Regions from separate parts of the Homo sapiens genome. Here region 2 is linked to region 1. The links are contacts of gene promoters, found by promoter capture Hi-C in blood cells and fetal thymus (Javierre and others, 2016). All regions are on one chromosome and are shown on one strand. Each heading gives the region's core, a stretch centred on a gene start or on the middle of the fragment in contact. The rest is flanking DNA. Distances are from core to core; before and after follow the strand shown. Region 1 holds the start of IL13RA1 (interleukin 13 receptor subunit alpha 1). Region 2 has its middle 31 kb from the start of RPL39.

Region 1 (2,724 bases), core at 136-2,635:
TGTGCCCTTTGGGTGGGGTCTAGACTAGGTATATTATCAGCATTTTTATTGCTATACTTTTTGTAACTGTTTTCAGGTATATGCATTGGCTTAATTCGGCCAAAATACACCTCATTATGGGTCTCATCATCCACCTAGACATGATTCTTTTTTGGGAGAAGGTGATAGAATAATGTCCCCCTCCCATGATTCCATATCGTGATCCCCAACACCTGTGAATATGTTAACTTACATAGCAAAAATGACTTTTCAGTTATGATTAAATCAAGGATTTTGAGATGGGGAGATTATTATGAATTATCTGGTGGACCTAATCTAATCACAAGGGTATTTATAAGGGAAAAGGGGAAGTAAGAGGGTCAGAGTCAGATACGACAAGGGAAGCAGAGGTCTGAGTAGTTCCGCAACAAGCCAAGGAATGTGGGTAGCCTCTAGAAGCTGGAAAAGTCAAAGACACAGATTCTCCCCTAGAATATCCAGAAGGAATACATCTCTGCCCACACCTTGATTTAAGCTCAGTGTCACTTCTGACCTCCAGAACTGTAATAAAATAAAACTGTTAAATCACTAAATTTGTGGTCATTTTTGACAGCAGCAACAGGAAACGCCTAAGGACTCTTGTTTTCCTTCCTCCCAGCCTCACTGACCCTCATAGGCGCCCAAGTATCAATGTGTATTCTTCCGATTCACCTCCCATCCCTTTGAAAAATATGTAGAAAGTTTGTCGTGTGCTTTAAAAAATGCACGTATGGTATCCTCCCTCATGTTTGGAATGTTCCTTTTAAAATCAACATTATGTATTGCCAGCTTTCAAATATGCCCTTTGTCCTTTTCACAAAGCACAGTACTGCCAGTGTCCCCAACTCCACCCAGTGAAGTAGGGCTGGTATTACTAACCCTGGAGTCAGCGCTAGCAAACAAGGGCTCAGAGGTCAAGGGCTGGAAGCCAGGTCTCCAGACTCCCAGGCCAAGGCTCTTTTCCGCAGATGACTCTGTCCTGGTGTCCAGCAGGGCACAGCCCCTAGCACCTCCGAGGCCCCGCAAGTGTGCTGGCAGCGGCGACGCCGGCTCCGCCACGCGGAGGGAGGAGGCCCAGGCAGCGCCCGGAGTGGGCGGCGACGTGGTGGAAGAAGTTTTGTTCGGTCAGAGACCGGACGCGGGAGCTGCGGGTGGGCCAGGTGTCCAGCCTTGGGAGCCGTAGGAGCCGCCAGAGCCGCCAGAGCCGCCGGCGCCCCGCCCCGCCTCCTCCGGCCGCTCTCGCCGGCTCAGGTTACCTGAGGCCGGTGGGCGGGGCGGCCCTTCCCGTCTGCGCCGGCCCCCAGCCTCCAGGGCGGCGGAGCCGGGAAGTGGAAGAGGGAGCGAAGGAGGCGGGGACTGCCAAGGCTCCAGCCCGGCCGGGCTCCGAGGCGAGAGGCTGCATGGAGTGGCCGGCGCGGCTCTGCGGGCTGTGGGCGCTGCTGCTCTGCGCCGGCGGCGGGGGCGGGGGCGGGGGCGCCGCGCCTACGGGTGAGTGCGACCCTCGGGGCCCGAGGGGCGGCCGGAGGGCTGAGGGCGGTGAGGGTCACGGCTGAAAGGCCCCGGAGGTCAACGCCGGGCGGAGGGCCGAAGCTGGGGTGGGTGCTGGGGGCTGCCCTCGCGAGGCCCCGCGCTCGGCGGCTGCGGCTTCCCGCGCGGGATCTCTGGGGCCCGGTACTGGGGCCGGTTCGAGGTGGGACCCGGGAGCTGCGGGGTTTTCCCGAACTCCGGGTGCGGCGGAGGTGGCGGCAGCGAAGTAAGAGGGCTGCGACTTGTAGTGGGAAGAGCCCAGGAGGCTGGCGTCCAGGCGTGCGGGGGCGGGGGGCCCGAAACATGCCCACGGCGTCAGAGGGCCGTGGGTCAGCGCCCGGAATGTCGCCTGTGAGCCCGGGAGGAAATGAGGCGCCAGAGCCGGCGGGGACCACGACCGAAGTCCAGGCGAGCTGAGAACGCGCCGGGGCTCTTTGCCCGAGGCCGCGCCAATCCTCACTGTCTAAGGGTGGCTCTTGCGAGTGGAAGTTGAAGGGAACCTCTAAACATCTCAGTCCTTGTTGAAAAAGGACGTGACGCTCATGACCTCCTCTGGCGTCGAAGAAATCCTTTGGGAAATCCAGAATAGCATCCCGGCAGATGCTCCCCCCACCCCACTCTCTTTAATAAACCTTATATTTTAGGGTAATTGTAGATTTATGGAAAAGTTGCAAAGATACTTCAGAGAGTTGTGTATATCCCTCACCCTGTTTGGTAACTTCTAGTTAATCAACCTGGCAGTTGTGAAAAATTGGGAGTTAATGACTTCCTTAGGAGCAGCTCCTGGAAGGAATGGCCTTCTGGACGTTTTTGGTGACAATGAAAGCCCCAAACTGTATAGGTTTTATTATCACATTGACACAAACACTTATATATGCTTATTGCATTTTTACCAATGTGCTTTGAAATCCAAGTTGAAATGTTGATTAGGAAACCTTAATGCCCTCTATGGATTCAGTCAATAAAATACATGCTGCCAGGCAGTGTTTAGGGGCTGAGGATGCAGCAGTGAGCAAAACAGATGAGGTGCCTGCCCTCAGACATATCGGGGGGTGGGGGTAAAATATATGATATGTCTGAGGGTGTTAAGTAGAGAAAAACAGAGCAGGTGGGAAGGGGTTTGCCATTGTAAAAAGGGTGGATCGAGAAGAAAACAAATGTTGCTGAAAGGTGGCATTT
Region 2 (2,724 bases), core at 105-2,604, 1.1 Mb after region 1:
GTTTGAGCCCAGGCATCTGGCAAACAGATGCCATGTTAGGAAGGGCTGGCAGGATGAATGAAAATCAGGCAAAAGCTCAAGGATGTTGTCTAAACATTTTGTTCTTATGGGACCAGAACAGTTGATGTAGTTTTGAAATTTGTCCCCACCCAAATCTCATGGAAATATAATCCCCAGTGTTGTAGGTGGGGCCTGGTGGGGTATTGGGGTTATGGGGCGGATCCCTCATGGCTTGGTGCTGTCCTCTCCATAGTGAGTTCTTACAGATCAGGTTGTTGTAAAGTGTGGCACCTCCTTCCCACACTCACTCTCTTGCTCACTCTGTGATGTGACATGCCTGCTCCTGCTTCACTTTCCGCCATGAGTAAAAGGTCCCTGAGGCCTCCCAGAAGCTGAGCAATGTCAGATGCCATGCTTGTACAGCCTGCAGAACTGTGAACCAGTTAAACCTCTTTTCTTATAAACTACCCAGTCTCAGGCATTTATTTATAGCAATGCAAGAACGGCCTAATACAGGAGTGAACCATGAACTGATCTTTCTCTGGTGGACAAAACAAAGGCAATGCCTGTGAAGGCAGAAACTAACATTATTCATCTGCTTTTGATACTTCCAAGAGGCTAATACAGTATAAAAAATTTAATTTCTCAAAACTCACAGCTGGCTGGGCGTGGTGGCTCACGCCTGTAATCCCAGCACTTTGGGAGGCTGAGGCCGGTGGATCACGAGGTCAGGAGTTCAAGACCAGCCTGGCCAAGATGGTGAGACCCCCATCTCTACTAAAAATACAAAAAATTAACCAGGCGCGGTGGCAGGTGCCTGTAGTCCCAGCTACTCAGGAGGCTGAGGAAGGAGAATAATTTGAACCCGGAGGGTGGAGGTTGCAGTGAGCCGAGATTGTGCCACTGCACTCCAGCCTGGGTGACAGAGTGAAACTCTGTCTCAAAAAAAAAACAAAAAAAACAAAAAAAACCTCACAGCTGTTTACTAAAGTTACTCACCACACTTAGCTTCATACTTGACTGCTGTTACTATGTATTGACATCAGAACAAAACAAACTGAAACTAAAAGTTGATATGTAACAACAACAGACATTGGTGCAGTTTCCTTCCTGGAGAGGGTAGGCACCAGATCATGAGACCTGAGATAAAACAAACTAGATTGTCAAGAATCCAACAAGGACTACATTTTACCTCTTAATAGAAAAAATGCTGGAGACAAAACGAGATGTTTAAAAATATTCTTCATGCTAAGCTTATGTAAGCAAATAAAAAAACAAAAGTAACCCTAAAATGTTAGGACATTGGATACAGAAGTAACATGACTATTTAAATGTTTGCATCAATGAAAGTTTGTTCTATCCTTCCCTGTACTTATAGACAAGGACATGCTTGTTGCTTCTACACTACCCAAAGTCAACAGTTATCATTAGCAATGCAATAGAAATAGATGGGAATAAAGCTTCAAAGCGACTCTGCTCCACCAAAATTTAGAAATTCAATTCAGGATGAACAACAGCTTTTGATTTTAAAACCAGCTCTTACTTTTCTCTCGTGTCACACGTGATGAAGTCCTCACTTGACATTTCCCCTGCAAATTGCAATGCATGTCCTCGCCATCAGCATTTTCTGACACTTTAATTTATAGAAATTGCAAAAACAATAAAATTGTACTTCCAATTCTGAACCTCCGACCAGATTCCTTCTTTGAGACAAAACTTACTCTTCTGCTGCGTACTCCTCTCCTCTTTATTTTTTTTTAATTTTTTTGGAGATAGAGCCTCCCTAGTGTCACCCAGGCTAGAGTGCAGTGGCACGATCATGGCTTACTGCAACCTCCACCTCCTGAGTTTAATCAATTCTCCTGCCTCAGCCTCTCGAGTACCTGGGACTACAGGCGCCTGCCACCAAGCCCGGCTAATTTTTGTAGTTTTAGTAGAGACTGGGTTTCACCATGTTGGCCAGGCTGGTCTCAAAGTCCTGACCTCAGGTGATCCACCCATATCGGCCTCCCAAAATGCTGGGATTACAGGCATGAGCCACCACGCCCGGCCTCTCCTCTTCTTTTCTATGGCTAATACCACTTTCCTGCTTTCTTTCTACTGCTGAATCTCCAGACTTGTCATCAGGGTGCCAGAGTCGACCTCGGCCTCGAGCTCCTCGATGGTAACACTGCATCCATGGACAGTCCTGAAGTACAATGAAATATGTTACTGTTACAACAATGCTACTAAGCTTTTACATGAGATTTTTAGGTTATACCTTATATATTAATATATACTAAAGCCCAGTCATTTAAGACCAAATATATGAGGGCATGGTAAATGACAACTTGCCCACTTCCTCTCTCCATCTCCAAAGAAAAGCAACCATTTCCTAATTATTATTTTTTATGTCTGGTTAAATTTATTTTCTTTGGAGACAGGGTCTCACTGTGTCAGCCAGGCTGCAGTGCAAGTGGCATGATCCAGCTTCGACATTCCAGACTGAAGGAATCCTACCACCTCAGCTCCCTAGTAGCTGGGATCGCAGGCCCGTGCTACCACATTGGGTTTTTAAATTTTAGCAGAGACGGGGTTGCCCTATGTTGCCCAGGCTGTTCTAGAACTCCTGAAGTTAAATGATCCTCCTACCTTGGCCTCCCAAATGCTAGGGTTACCTGCAGGAGCCATCACGCCTGGCCCATTTCTTTTCTTTTTTTCCTCTTTTTTTTTTTTTTTTTTTGT

Evidence for each region. The method cuts DNA at HindIII sites, captures the fragments that hold promoters and counts their contacts. A CHiCAGO score of 5 or more calls a contact.
Region 2: a fragment that was not itself captured here is called in contact with the fragment with the promoter of IL13RA1 in region 1 in 1 of 17 cell types (total B cells); the score reaches 5.5 in total B cells.

Annotation. Positions count from the first base shown.
Region 1 is chrX:118,726,221-118,728,944 of GRCh38, forward strand. It overlaps IL13RA1 (interleukin 13 receptor subunit alpha 1), which reads left to right and starts at 1,386. Exons shown (of 11, transcript NM_001560.3): 1 at 1,386-1,506. The coding sequence starts at 1,419. RefSeq lists a silencer at 995-1,424. The HindIII fragment of the contact is 2,975 bases long and covers 1-2,724 here.
Region 2 is chrX:119,820,856-119,823,579 of GRCh38, forward strand. It overlaps a transcript of UPF3B not described here and the pseudogene LOC100422368. Among named protein-coding and RNA genes, the nearest start is that of RPL39, 31 kb to the left of the region's middle. The HindIII fragment of the contact is 207 bases long and covers 1,252-1,458 here.